5 separate regions of the Homo sapiens genome follow, and all the other regions are linked to region 5. Evidence: promoter capture Hi-C in 16 types of primary human blood cells and fetal thymus (Javierre and others, 2016). All regions are on one chromosome and are shown on one strand. Each heading gives the region's core, a stretch centred on a gene start or on the middle of the fragment in contact. The rest is flanking DNA. Distances are from core to core; before and after follow the strand shown. Region 1 holds the start of METTL21A (methyltransferase 21A, HSPA lysine). Region 2 has its middle 6.5 kb from the start of FZD5. Region 3 holds the start of KLF7 (KLF transcription factor 7). Region 4 holds the start of CCNYL1 (cyclin Y like 1). Region 5 holds the start of RPE (ribulose-5-phosphate-3-epimerase).

The links. The method cuts DNA at HindIII sites, captures the fragments that hold promoters and counts their contacts. A CHiCAGO score of 5 or more calls a contact.
Region 1: the fragment with the promoter of METTL21A here is called in contact with the fragment with the promoter of RPE in region 5 in 3 of 17 cell types (total CD8 T cells, M0 macrophages and monocytes); the score reaches 8.3 in total CD8 T cells.
Region 2: a fragment that was not itself captured here is called in contact with the fragment with the promoter of RPE in region 5 in 1 of 17 cell types (neutrophils); the score reaches 6.9 in neutrophils.
Region 3: a contact is called between the fragment with the promoter of KLF7 here and the fragment with the promoter of RPE in region 5, in 1 of 17 cell types (M0 macrophages). The highest score is 7.0, in M0 macrophages.
Region 4: the fragment with the promoter of CCNYL1 here is called in contact with the fragment with the promoter of RPE in region 5 in 1 of 17 cell types (total CD8 T cells); the score reaches 6.4 in total CD8 T cells.

Annotation. Positions count from the first base shown.
Region 1 is chr2:207,624,096-207,626,795 of GRCh38, forward strand. It overlaps METTL21A (methyltransferase 21A, HSPA lysine), which reads right to left and starts at 1,299. Exons shown (of 4, transcript NM_001127395.5): 1 at 967-1,299; 2 at 134-309. The coding sequence starts at 280. RefSeq lists a silencer at 895-1,494 and enhancers at 1,765-2,469, 2,470-2,700. The HindIII fragment of the contact is 10,824 bases long and covers 1-2,700 here.
Region 2 is chr2:207,775,085-207,777,784 of GRCh38, forward strand. No RefSeq gene overlaps it. Among named protein-coding and RNA genes, the nearest start is that of FZD5, 6.5 kb to the left of the region's middle. The HindIII fragment of the contact is 833 bases long and covers 1,001-1,833 here.
Region 3 is chr2:207,164,670-207,167,369 of GRCh38, forward strand. It overlaps KLF7 (KLF transcription factor 7), which reads right to left and starts at 1,279. Exons shown (of 4, transcript NM_003709.4): 1 at 798-1,279. The coding sequence starts at 899. It overlaps MIR7845 (microRNA 7845), which reads left to right and starts at 1,731; the gene lies at 1,731-1,829. RefSeq lists enhancers at 1-289, 891-990, 998-1,706, 1,707-2,414, 2,415-2,700 and a silencer at 1,481-2,120. The HindIII fragment of the contact is 8,010 bases long and covers 1-2,652 here.
Region 4 is chr2:207,710,339-207,713,038 of GRCh38, forward strand. CCNYL1 (cyclin Y like 1) reads left to right here and starts at 1,302. Exons shown (of 10, transcript NM_001330218.2): 1 at 1,302-1,778. The coding sequence starts at 1,559. RefSeq lists enhancers at 494-693, 704-753, 1,106-2,102 and silencers at 974-1,423, 1,844-1,953, 1,966-2,125. The HindIII fragment of the contact is 3,390 bases long and covers 1-2,700 here.
Region 5 is chr2:210,001,298-210,003,997 of GRCh38, forward strand. It overlaps RPE (ribulose-5-phosphate-3-epimerase), which reads left to right and starts at 1,341. Exons shown (of 6, transcript NM_199229.3): 1 at 1,341-1,486. The coding sequence starts at 1,365. RefSeq lists enhancers at 1,350-1,399, 1,440-1,609. The HindIII fragment of the contact is 5,690 bases long and covers 1-2,700 here.

The DNA.
Region 1 (2,700 bases), core at 49-2,548, 2.4 Mb before region 5:
ATTGTGCACTTTAAATAGGTAAAGTGTATGCTATGTGAATTATATCTCAATAAAGCTGTTCTAAAAAAAATAAAAAATAAAAGCCAGTCTTGCAAGTGTGAACGTTTTCAGAGGTCCCCCAGGGCTTACTTACCGCATCCCAAACCACCGCTGCGACTCCCAGGTGTCTCCAGTCCTGCCGGATCTGGATCGTGTGGTTTGCAAAGGAAAAAGTTGCAAGAGGCTTGTGGAATTTCTGCAACCCAAATTCCGTGGTCTCCTCATAGGGCACGAGGGCCATTCCGCCTGCACCCCGCCCTCTGCTCAGACCTGCCGTGCAAAAGAATCCTGGGTGACGCTCTGGCCAAAAGATACATTATCTGTTCTTAACTAACTCCAAATGCTTTTAAGGTCGTTTACAAGTTCAAAAGAAAAAAAGAAACAGGTGGAGGAAGCCTTTGTCCAATTTCTTTTGCATGGCTCTTCCGAATCTGAGTGAGATTTGGCTCGGAATTTGTGTCAACGGATGTGTTTGGGGAAGAAGAAAAAAAAAGCCCAGAACATTCCAACTTCCGCAGAATACCCTATACACTGCACTGCTACCACTCCGTGAATTCAGAACTACACAAGCGGCGGAAGCGGCGGTGATCGCCCAGGGCCCCAGAGCAGCGCGGAAAGCAGCGCTTCCAACCCAGACCCGGGCGCCCGGACTGCAGCTGCAGCCAGCCGGGCGGCCCGGGTTCTTTCGCTACGGTTTCGCTACCCACCTCCCCTCCTCCATCGGCTGCTTCGATAGTGATAACAATGGGACAGAACCTGCCCTTAGACTGGGTGTTAGCGGTTTGATAAACCAGAAATACATGGTCGCCGCAGTTCCGTCTCCCCGACCCTGGAAGTGAGCGACACTGGGGGCCTCCAAGCGGCTCGCGGGGACAGCGGGGACTCGGAGGCCTCCCCGAACTCCCCCTATAGCTGCCCCCCACTCACCCCTCTCCCGGGACGACCAGTGCGCCCTTCCTGCCCGGGGGCCCCGGAGCTGCGGCAACCCTCCAGGGGTGAGAGGGAGACCAGGCGAGGGGGGTCACAGGGCCTCTTAGGATCCCCAGGCCATACGGGGCGCCGTGAGCTGCCCGGCGGAGCACCCAGGGCTCGCCCAGGCCGGGCTGAGGCGCCGCCACGCCGGTACTTACGGCCCGGGAGGCGGTCCCGCGTGGAGCGCGCGCTCCGCTTTCCCCGCCCCGGGCTGGCTGCGAAAACCGCCGGCCTTAAAGAGCCCGCGACGCGGGGGCGGGCGGCCCCGGCCCGGAGCCACGCATTTCCGGTCTCCCGGCACCCAGCCTCCGGCAGGTGCCCCCGGAGCTCACGGCGAGGGCGGGGCCGGGCCGTGGCGCGGTGGAGGAGTGACGTTGCGGGAGGGGGGACCGGGGCTTTCCCTCGTGCGTCCCCAGGGTACACGGACGACTTAATCCGTTTCCCCCGCCGCCGAGGGAGGCGCTGTGGGGGCGGGAGCAAGAGTGAGATCGGGGTGCCGAACTGCCGCGGGTGCACAGGGAGAGCATGGGGTGCCCTGGGCTCTCCTAGCGGGAGAGAAAAGCCACCCACCTGGCGCTGAATGTGCCTCTCGACCTTTTCTATCATGTGCTCCGCCGCTCTCTGCCTCTGACTTTGTCGCTTGCGCGTTGTGCCTGTTTTTTAAAGGTGGCGCGTTAGCGGATGATGGAGACAGCTCGCTCCGAAGAAGGCATGGTCACTCTAGTCCCCGCGTCTCCACGGTGGGGTCAGAAGCGGCGTAATAGCCCGCTTGGCGGCAATCGAGTGGAAAAGTCACAAAACCCTTTTCAACTAAAGCACAGTGGGGGAAGTGAACACGTGGCGCCCGAGTCCAAGTTTTTAAAGTGGGGCGGGGGTCGGCGGGCTCTGGCTGCAGTCGGAAGCGCGGAGCTCTGGGCGTGCGCTCGGCTCCAGCCCCGGCCCCAGGCGGCGCTGCAGACTCCAGTGCCCCAGTCTCCCTCCTCCCGATGCCAAGACGCACCTGCCCGTGAGGACCCACGCTGGACGTGGAAGGTGCCGAGGGCCTGGTACCCTGGCCGCAGGCCCTGGCAGAGCGCGCGGCTGGAGTGGGTCCATTGAGTGGGACCGTGCGGGGACCGGCATCCTCCCGGGGCAGGCTTCTTTTTCCTCCTGGGGCCCCTCGCCCCACACCGCCCGCTGCGCTCTCAGCGCGGCTGCACGTTAGAACCAGCTGGGGTAAACCTCCCTTACCAGTCCCCCGCCCCAAGAGCTGGCCATGGGAGGGGGCCCGAGCGCTGATTTTTTTGTTTGGTTTTTTGCTTTTGTTTTTGTTTTTGTTTTTGTTTTGAGACGGAGTCTCTCTCTGTCGCCCAGGCTGGAGTGCAAGGGCGCGAACTCGGCTCACTGCAGTCTCCGCCTTCCGGGTTCAAGCGATTCTCCTGCCTCATTCTCCCGTGTAGCTAGGATTACAGGCCTGCGCCAGCACGCCAGCTAATTTTTGTGGGATTTTGTTTGTTTGTTTGAGACGGAGTCTTGCTCTGTCGCCAGGCTGGAGTGCAGTGGCGCGATCTCGGCTCACTGCAGCCTCCACCTCCCGGGTTCAAGCAGTTCTCCTGCCTCAGCCTCCAAAGTAGCTGGAATTACAGGCGCCCGCCGCCACACCCGGCTTTTTTTGTGTTTTTAGTAGAGACGGGGCTTCACCATGTTGGC
Region 2 (2,700 bases), core at 167-2,666, 2.2 Mb before region 5:
AAGCCTGGAATATTATGTTACATCTAGACACCTTCAATAAATATTTGTGAAATAAATAAATGAGTGAATGACAACTGATACTAACTTTTTCAATTTTAGCAACTGGCATTCAGTCCTTGAATTCAGATGAACTCTCCCTCTGAGGTTGACCAGGTCCTGTTAAATGAAGCCTAAGTCCAAATTTTGGCTCTGCCTTTACAAGCTAGGCAACCTCGGGCAAGTCACCTAACAGCTCCAGGCCCCCTTACTTCTCTGTAAAATAGAGTTAGAAATAGTTATCTACCTCCCAGAGCTATAGTGAGGAGTAAGTATATTTATATGGTAAAGAGCTTAGAACCATGTCTAGCCCCTGAGTCTCTATAGGTCTTGGCTATTATTATTAGTTTCTTCTAAGGTTCATTCTGTTTTTCCAGTTTTCTGTATTTTCTTTTGTATATTACTTTAACAAGGGAAAAAATAACTATTTTTTTCCAGGTGTACTTTATTTCTGAGAACACTGCAGGCTCTCACCAGCTATCTCTGGCACTTAGATATTGGTAAATTTAGTGCCAAAGCAGGGATCGTGTCACTTGCCCAGGATCAAAGTGCACACTCCTGATTATCAGTAACCATGTATGTGCACACTTGCTGGCTCAGGATAGAGGCCACCAGCCAACCCAAGTTCCTCACAGGTATTTCCAGACTAGCTCCCAACATGTCCTACAGCATCTCTGATCACTGCTCTTCCCATCGTATCAGATACCTCGAGACACAAACCAGAGGATTAAAACAATGAGCCATTTTTCCTGGGTTCATAATGAGAGTATCTTTTGTAAGTGGAATAATTCAACAGTAATCTTCAGTCCTCTCTTCTCCTACAATGTGGTGGAGATTATAGAAGAGTAAAAGCAGCTTTCTTTTTCTCCTCGGGGTAATGGAAGTACTGGGCTAATCTTTGCCACGCTGATCAGTGGCCCTCAGCTGCGCATTGCAATCACCGGGGAGCTTTTAGAAATACTGAAGCTTGGGCCCTGTTTAATCGGAGTCTCTGGTTGAGGGACAGGAAATGTGTTTTGGTTTATTTGTTTGTTTTGGTGGTGGTTTTGTTTTTAAGTCTTAACCCTGTTTTTGGCTAGGGTGGAGAACCACTGGCATAGATGGTTTTGGTGTTTCCTCAGTACAGCCCCAGACTTGGGCCTAGCTGAGTCTTTTGCAAGGAGGGTTATTCACATCAGTGTGTAAAATGGAACACTGGGAATAGGTATAAAGAACTGCATTCTAGGCTAATCGCATCCGAGTCTGTTTAGGCTGAAGGAAAAATTATATAAAGCAACAGAATTGTGATGAAGTGACAACAATGATGACCATTACAAGAGCTACTGATAAGTATGGAGCACTTCATAAGTACATGCACTGTACTAAGCATTTGACATTTTATGCATACCTTTTTATGCCTAAGAATCCTGTAAGATTGATTTTATCATTCCCATGTTATAGATGAAAAATCATGGCTGGGTGAGTGGCTCATGCCTGTAATCCCAGCACTTTAGGAGGCTGAGGTGGGAGGGTCTCTTGAGCTCAAGAGTTCGAGACCAGCCTGGGCAACATAGGGAGACTTCCAGCTCTACAAAAAAAAAGGTTTTATTTTTATATTAGTGGGGCGTGGTGGCAGGCACCTGTGGTTCCAGCTGCTCAGGAGGCTGAGATGGGAGGATCGCTTGAGCCCCAGAGGTTGAGGCTGCAGTGAGCCATGGTCACACCACTGCACTGCACTCCAGCCTGGGCGACAGAGTGAGACCCTGTCTCGAAAACAAACAAAAACCTGAGGTTCAAACAAGCTGAGTGACTTGCTGAAGCTTGCACACCTTCCAACTTGGAGGGTTTCCCTGGCCTCAAAGCCGATGCTCTCATTCACTGCAGCCTTCACTGCAGCCTAGCAGCAACCATTCATCAAGTACAGGGCCCTAAGAACAACCAGATGGTAAATCTTGAGATAAGCAATTTTTCTTGCTCCTTAGCACCTTTTTCCTGGGACCAGGTCAACTCTCCAATTCTGGTGTGGCCTCTTGTGGCGGGGTGGTTCAAGCGTGGAAAAGTCGAGGACCTGGGATTCATCTTGAATCCAGTAAGCGTCCAGAGGCAACATGTTCTTTGGGCTTTGCAGAGCAAGCAGGAGGTGGAGTGCCCCTTAAGCTAGATTATAGAACCTCCCAGTATCTTGGCAGAGGGAGCTTCAGTTCATTAAACACTGACTCTGCACCTGCTGTGAGCCAAGCACTGGTGCCAGGGTCACAAGATGAAAAGGCAGGAACTTACAATGTGGGGCATAGTGGGAGCTCACACGAGGCACTTAGCACAACCTGGTGGTTCAGGGAAGACCCAGGCTGGCCTATGGGTTAGACGGTCCATCAGGGTTTAGTATAGGAAGTAGAAACCTCTGTAGGTATTTATTTTTTTGTTGTTTGTTTTTGTTTTTTTGAGACAGGGTCTTGCTCTGTCACCCAGGCTGGAGTGCAGTGGTGCAATCAAGGCTCACTGCAGCCTTGACCCCCTGGGCTCAAGCGATCCTCCCACCTCAGCCTCCTAGGTAGTTGGGACTATAGGCCTGTGTCACCATGCCCAGCTGATTTTTGATTTTTTGTATAGATGGGGTTTTGCCACATTGCTCAGGCTGGTCTCAAACTCCTAGGCTCAAGCTGTCAGCCTGCCTTGGCCTCCCAA
Region 3 (2,700 bases), core at 29-2,528, 2.8 Mb before region 5:
GTTTCTTAACTAGTCCTCTAAGACAAAGTCAAAGGCATGGAAGCACACATCAGCCTTTGTCCGAGGTTGTGCTGCCTAACTAGAGAAGGACCCTAAACAAAAAAGAGAAACAAGGACACGCATAGAGGGTGTTCTCTTTCTGGAGGGATCACACTGGGAAAACCTACAATTCATTGTCAGCCTCAGCTACATCTTCCCGTCCTCCTTGAGTATCTTTTGTCAGTGGGCTCTTCTCTCTTTTGCCTACCTTCTAATCTCAAAATCAAGCTCCTATTCTTTATTGACACTCGCTAATTACTGAAAAACACTCCGCTTTGCTCCTGCCCACCCTCCCCCGCCCCCCATCCGATGGTCATAAGCACCAGTTGAAACAGATGAACCTGATTTCAGGTATCAAGTGGGTAGAGCTCATGCATGCGAGAACGTGGTCCCTGTCAGCAATCGCTCCTAACACCCCAAACCACCTTCCCACCCGGCTCCTCCGAACCCCAGAAGTTCGGCAGGTCTCTGATAGGGGACAGCAAACCCGACAACGTGTGCGCAGGGATGTGTGTTGGCGACTGAAACGCAGGCAGCTCGCACCGGCTGCTCAGCTCGGCACTCTACGAGGTTAGGGGTGGGTGGAGAGGTAAGCGCAGATGACTGTTTCAGAAAACATTTTCAACAACAGACAGCCAAAAAGGAAGAAAAAAAAGTCAAACAAACAAACAAAAATTTCAACCCAGAGCCCACACCAACGCAGCCCCTGCGTCTCCGCCGCCACCACACGATTTACACAAGTAATTTAAATCATTCACCTGCTGCCAGGTCTCCTCCAGGGATGGTAAAGCTGAGAAGTAGCCGGTGTCGTGGACAAGTTGTAGCTCCTGGAATATACTATAACTAGCCAACACGTCCATGCTGCTGCTGCCGGGCAAAACGGGAGGCGAAACCCTCCCCCGAACACAGTTGGGGCTGTTTGTTTGTCAGTCTGTCTGGCTCACCCCCCAAGAAGGCAGACATCCAGTGGCCCTTTTGTTTTGTTTTGTTTCAGTCAACTAAAAAGGAAAAAAAAAAATCAATGCAGGAGAGGGAGAGAGGAGGTGAGAGAGGAGCGAGTGAGTGGGGTGGATGGAGAGAGGCATCCAGCGTGTACAGTGCAGACGACTGCCAGGAAAAGGGGACTTCTCCACGGGAGTAACAATTCCCTTCCAGGGCTCTAATCACTCCAGCTCGTGGATCAGGAAGGGGGATGCAAACTCACTGACACGAAGCTGCCATCTATTTCTGCAGCGCTGTTCGCTCCTAATGCAATCTTTGCTCTTTATTTTGGGAGGTTGCATTTTTTTCTCTCGCGATCGCTTCTCTTCCCCCCCCTTCCCTTCCCTCCCCACCCCCCACCCCATCCTTGCTAGTTTGTAGTCTTCCCCCTCCCTTTTCTCCTCCTCCTGCTCTTCCCCCTCCCCAAACTCCCTCCCTCCGTTCGGTTCTCCGCGCAGCCGTGGGATCTCGAGGAGGGCGTCCATTAGGCCGCGTGTGACCATGTAAGGTAAACAGGGGGCTCATGAAGTCACTGAGGACCAATGGGGAGCCCGGAGCAGAGCCTGGGGCGGGGCTTGGCCCTGGCGGCGGGCGCGGATTGGCACGCTGCGGATCTCCCTGCTGCCTTACAAGGCGGTGCGAGGCGAGCTATTTTTAGAGGGCTATATAAGGGGGCTGAGGCGGCCGCCCGGCGGCCGGGCAGCGCGAGCGCAAGGGACAGGGAGGGTCGTGGCGACACTCGCGCCAGCTCCCGGGACGGCTGGGCTCGGGCTGGTCGCCGACCTCCGACCCTCCACTAGATGCCTGGCAGAGCCCGGCGCGTCCGGAGCCCGCGCCCCTCAGAGGGAAGGGGTCGCGCGTCGCCGCGGCGGCCCTGAGGCTGACGGTCGGGAGGTGAAAGGCCGGAGTGCGGGGTCAGGACGCCTCCTGGAGGGGGCGCGGCGCAGGGGGCCGCGGGGAAGCCGCCGAGGGCGCGGAGCGGGAAGGAAGGACAGTGGCCACCCCGCCTCCGCCTGGGCACGGGGCAGGGACCCGCGCGAGGCGGTGCCGGGGAGGTCCTCACGTACTCAAAAACAAGCAGAAAAGGCATCCAGGGCCCCTTCCCGAACTCCCCACGGGCTGCCAGGGTGCAGAGAAGAAGCGCCTGAGGAGGAAGTGCCACACAATGGGAGAGAACAAAGGGGAGCGGAGCGAGACCGCGGCCTGCGCCCGCCCCCCGCTTGCGCACAGTCCCCGCCCCGCCCCGCGGGCGCCGCCGCCGCCGCCCTCCCTCCCGCGCCTCCTTCTGACCCCGAGCGAGAGACCTGGTCGGGAGTCCGGCGGCTAGAGTTGATTGCAAGGGGCCTGTTGCTCGACTGTGCGTTAAAGAGGCTAGAGGGAGCCTAGGTAGACGTGGGGCGCAAGCTGGAGCCGGCAGCTTGCGAGGGGGCCTTTACGTGATGAGGCTCACCATGGGGTCTCCAGCGAGGTGTCTGCAGAGCTTCGATGGTGAGAGGAGGAACTCGATTTCTCGTTTTCTGGAGTTGGGATGTAGACATAGAGAGATCTGTTACATCTGAGATGAAAACCCTGCACAATTCACGTTAGGGTTGGCCAATTGTTTGCTTGACCTTAAATGGTTAGTGTGGTTTAAGCTTCCCCAAAATGCGCTGTGAGCTGAGCTTCCACTTTTGGAATGAT
Region 4 (2,700 bases), core at 52-2,551, 2.3 Mb before region 5:
TTAGGGAGGAAGTGACATTGTGTGTATATATATATATTTGTTTATTTATTTTTATTTTTATGTTTTATTTTTTTGAAACGGAGCCTAGGTCGCCCAGGCTGGAGTGCAATGGCGCGATCTCGGCTTACGGCAACCTCTGCCTCCCGGGTTCAAGTGATTCTCCTGCCTCAGCCTCCCGAGTAGCTGGGAATACGGGCGCGTGCCACCATGCCCGGCTAATTTTTTGTATTTTTAGTAGAGACGGGATTTCACCGTGTTAGCCAGGATGGTCTGGATCTCCTGACCTGGTGATCCGCCCGCCTCGGCCTCCCAAAGTGTTGGGATTACAGGCATGAGCCACCGCGCCCGGCCGGGATTGTTTTTAAGGGTTAAATAAATATACCACAGTTGGAACACTGTCTGGCACATAGTGCTTGCCAAATGGTAACTATTCATCTTCATGGAATCAAGACTGTGGTGCCCCACTGCATGGTTCTCAGTTTTGCGTGAGAAAATCGTGCTTTCTGTGCTGTTTTTAGTACAAGAAGAGAAACCTGGAAGTCCCTGCCTAGAGGAGAGAAACAGGCAAGAAAAGGGAGTTGGCGAGTCCCAGCATTTCAGAGTTGGCAGGGACGAGTTAGGTCCCTATTTTATGGATGAGGAAGTGGAAGGGTGACGTGTCCTCGAGTCTCATTCAAGACCCACAGCCACAACTCTTTATGGAGAGTAGGACCAGGGCCCCAGGGTTGCTATGATCACGTTGCAGGTGAAAACTAACGCTCATTGGAAGACAGGAGCGGAGCACTGAGTTACAAAAACAGTTAACAATTTGGGTGTAACCAAGTTTAGTGAGCAAACGAAAGCTGTCAGACTCGGAAGAAGAGTTGCTAATGGAGCGAACTCTTTACTAATAACGGCTTTCTACAGAGATCATTGACACAGCTTCCAGTTACAAATGCCCGTGCGCTTCCAGTAGGACCGGAAAGCTCCCAGCAGCCAGCGATGAATGAAAACCCGAGTCTGGGATAGCGGCGTGAGGGGCTGGGCAGCTGCCAGGCGGGGGCGGGGCAGCAGGTCACGTGCCTGGCTTCGAGGCGGGCGCCGGAGGGGGAACTCTGACCATGATTGGTTCCTCCTAACCAGGTGACCGCAGGTCGCGTTCCGGTTGGCAGGCACCGGCCAGGGCCAGCGGCCTTCAGTCGGTAGGCGGCGGCGGAAGGAGGAGGAGCTCCAGCCGCGCTCTCTCCCGGCAGTGGCTGTGCTTCACAGCGCTTGTTGGGTTCCCCACCCCTTTTAAATAAGCCGGGCTGGTCACCGCCCTCGCAGACGAGTCAGCTTAAGGGAGGCGGCGGCAGCGCGGCGGTGGGGGTGCGGCCGAGGCCCGAGCCCTGCCCGGGGCCGGGCCGCGGGGCGGGCGGGCGAACCGCGGGCGAGGCGGCGTCTGCTTGCGCGGTGCAGCCCCAGCGTAGCCCGGGGCTGCCGGTGCCGGCCGCGCCATTGTTGGGGGAGGGGGCGGCTGTTGAGGGCGGCGGAGTAGGGGGCGAGCGAAGGCGGTGGCAGAGAGGAGCGGAGGCTTCCCATGGGGAACACGCTGACCTGTTGCGTGTCCCCCAATGCCAGCCCCAAGCTGGGCCGGCGCGCGGGGTCGGCGGAGCTGTACTGCGCGTCCGACATCTACGAGGCGGTGTCCGGGGACGCGGTGGCGGTAGCGCCCGCTGTGGTGGAGCCTGCCGAGTTGGATTTCGGAGAGGGCGAGGGCCACCACCTGCAGCACATCAGCGACCGCGAGATGCCCGAAGGTAAGGAGGCGGCGGATGCCATCCGCCCTCGGGCTCACCTCTGCCCGCCTCCTCCCCCAGAGTCCCCCGGGAGGCATCCGCCGCCTCGGGCTCCTTCCTGCCGGTAGCCGGCCCCGGGACGAAGGCTGGTTCTGCCTCGCGTCCCCACCCCTTATTCTTGCCCTGCTGCGTCTGGCCAGTTTCTTTTCCTCCTCCTTACCGTAACGCCCAGTTCTTGCTCCCGCTTCCCATTCTCCCAAGCCGGCGTGGGACCCTCTAGTCCGCCGCCCTTCTTGTTTGTAGCTCTGTTCATTGTCTGGTGGGACTTTGCTAAGACTTTTGGGGTATATTGTTTTCCTTTTCTCAATGGAAACTCAAATACCTCAACTTCGGAGTACTCATCCCATTCCCTCCCTTAACCCATCCAGATGGTACCTAAGTGAAGGAACCAGGTAAGGGTCTGATTGTTCCTTCCTCCCATCCGTGAAGATAGCTGATGCCCGCGACAGTTTAGACCCAGATGTTTGAGGATTTCTTATCTAGACTCAAAATAGAGGTTGCCATAGGAGACACTATATGGTATTCCTAATAGGTTAAGTCGGCGTGAAAGAAGCTGCTTTATTCCTTCCAACTATAATTTGAACACAGAAAGAAAGAAAATGGGGGGAGGGGCGTAAAATGACTGTGAAGGGTGTGAGAGGTTATTACCAGGGGTGCAGACAAGTTGTTTTTTTGAGACGGAATCTCGTTTTGTCGCCCGCCCAGGCTGGAGTGCAGTGGCGCGATCTCGGCTCGCTGCAACCTCCGCCTCTCGGTTTCAAGCGATTCCTCTGCCTCAGCCTCCCGAGTAGCTGGGATTACAGGCGTGCGCCACCACGCCCAGCTAATTTTTGAATTTTTAGTAGAGACGGGGTTTCACCATGTTGGTCAGGCTGGTCTCTAA
Region 5 (2,700 bases), core at 91-2,590:
AACAGCACACAAACCTATCACAATTTGTGAATGAGCATTGGAGAGGTGTAGGGGCCAAGGGAAAACTTTCCCTTCACCCTCCAAAGGTTTGCTGAAAATCACTGACAGAAAGAAGATTAACAGGAGAAAAGGCATAAAAACTTATTTGATTATAGTTTTACCTGACACAGGAGCCTTCAGAATGAAGACCCAAAGGTACAGGGGTGATTACCCATTTTTATACTTAGGTTCAACAAAGTATAGACAGCCATGTAGAAATACGATTGGACAAAATAGGCGATCTAATGCTAATAGACTGACCTGGCCTTGGCCAGTCTAGTTTAGATTCCTGGCCTCTCTGTGCAGCATTCCCTCCTCCTGGATATGGGATAGAACCTTCTCTAGAAGAGGAGTTTTATAACCTACAGTTGAGATGGGTCAAATAATTTATGGCCAGTTTTTACACAGAAAGGTGGAGGAAAGTTAGAGTAATGCTTTTGGGTTTTGTGTCTGGCTTCAGGGAAAGGGGGTTCCGGTTTCAATGACTCTTCTTAGGGAAGATGGGCTCCAGTTTCTATGACCTGCCTCCTAGAATGAGACTGAGAAGAGAGCAGGGCAGGAAGTCAGAGAAACACTGTTGCGTCTGAGGCCTTCACTTTGGGCTATCATTTTCTGAGCCTCAACAGAGGGAAAAACAAAAAAGGTAAGGAGGAACTGCAAAGGCAGAAAAAGAGGGTAATATAATAATAACTACCATTTTGTACTGAGCACCAGGCATCCTGCTGGGCGCATTACCTGGCTTCACTCATTTAATACAACCCTAAAGCTGGGCACTGTCTTTACAGATGAGAAAACCGAAGTTAAGAAGTGATTTGCCAGGTCACCCAGCTAGTATCTGGCAGAGCCAGGGTTCCTCCAGCTCAAAAGAAGAGCTCTAGGAGAAATACGAGGAAGAAAGGTTTTTAATTGTTGTTTTAAAGGGCCAGCATAGGCGCTGGAGAGGAAAGAAAGGCATATGCAAAGGGTGGAGAAACAAAAAGTGATGTTAAGTCAAGAGCCGAGGAGAGGGAACTGCAGGAGAAGCAAAGTGAAAAAAGGTTAAGAAACGCCTTGAGTACTGCGAGGACGTTAAGATCCAAACAGCACAAGAAGGAAGGTCAAAATCAGGTGTACGAGGCCCGTGTGCCCCGCCCCGCCCCAGGCGGACGGCTGACAGCGCCCCACCCCAGGAGGAGGCGGGACTTCCTCACCGCAGAGTGGCTGCTTCCGGTAGAATCCGGAAGCCTGTACGGAGAAGGGGCGGGGCCAAAACTGCGCGCCCAATCGGGGTGACGCTCTAGCCTTGCCGGGGACTCGTGGGTAACTTGCTTTTGGGAGCCAGCGGTATGGCGTCGGGCTGCAAGATTGGCCCGTCCATCCTCAACAGCGACCTGGCCAATTTAGGGGCCGAGTGCCTCCGGATGCTAGACTCTGGGGCCGATTATCTGCACCTGGACGTAATGGACGGGTAACTCCTCCGGGCTCCGGTCGGGCTTGCCGCGCGGCGGGGCGGATCAGTGCACCTTTATTGACTGCTTGTTGGATGTACCGCGTCCCTGTACCACCGAGCGCCTCACTCTGAACGCGATGCTAGAAGGGGTGTGGGGTAGGAGCCCTGGAGGCTCTAGCAGGAGCAGAACCGACGCGGTATCCTGGGTTGCGGCCGGGTCCCAAACCTCAGTTCCTCCCCTCCCCCCACGTAACGTGTGGTCTTCCATCACTTAGGACCCGGAAGCGACCTAAATCTTTAGGACATTTCTTCACTTTCAGCTAGAGAAACTGAGGCCCAAGGGGAGAAGCATGACTTGCCCAAGCTCATATAGCTAGTTAGTGGCAAAGCTGGGGAAACAGACTTCTCTAACGATTTAAGTTGGCACCTGCGGTTAGGTTCCCGAGTTCTGCCACTTGCTGGGTTACCTTGGACAAGCCACTAACCTCATTGAGCTTCAGTTTCATAATTTGAAAAATGGAACTACTAACAGAACCTACCGCTTAGGCATCTTGGAAGATGAAATGAGCGAGTACATGAGAAGTTTACAGTGCCTGGCGTATATTAAGTTCTCTATAATTGTTAATTACATCATTATTACAATTCTGATTTTCCTGTCTATTTTCTCTTCAGGCACCCTGCTCTTCAGGGAGGTCAGTTTTTTGTAAGTAATTTTTAAGCACCGTAGTTACAGCACATAATATTGTTTGGAGTCAGGATATTAGTTTCTGAAGTTGGTTACAGAATGAGGAAACAACCCCAGAGAAAGCAGTAAGACTCCCTCAAGATTACAGAAGATTGTGACAGACTTGCAACTTGGCTCTTCCTAGGTTTGCCAAGTAGTTCTCTGAGCCCCACTGTTAACTGACTATAAAAATCATAAATACCATTATCTTGAGTGGGGATGGAAAAATAAATTTATTTTAAATAGGTAAAAACCCTGTGTTCCCTCATTCAGTTTGCAAATTGGTGTTATTTTCTAAAGGTGATGATTTCCTTTTCTTTTTAATGTTAATCTGGCTTTGAAGAGTTTTATCTTCCATTGCTCTATGTGGTTAAATGTATTGTTTCTCTTTGGCATTTTACCCAGTTACCTTAGGAGTCCACCCAACTGATAATGACAAAACTTTGACCATAGAGTACTAAAAATAATAGGCCAAATGTGTAAAAAGTTTAGTAAATATTACCTCTCA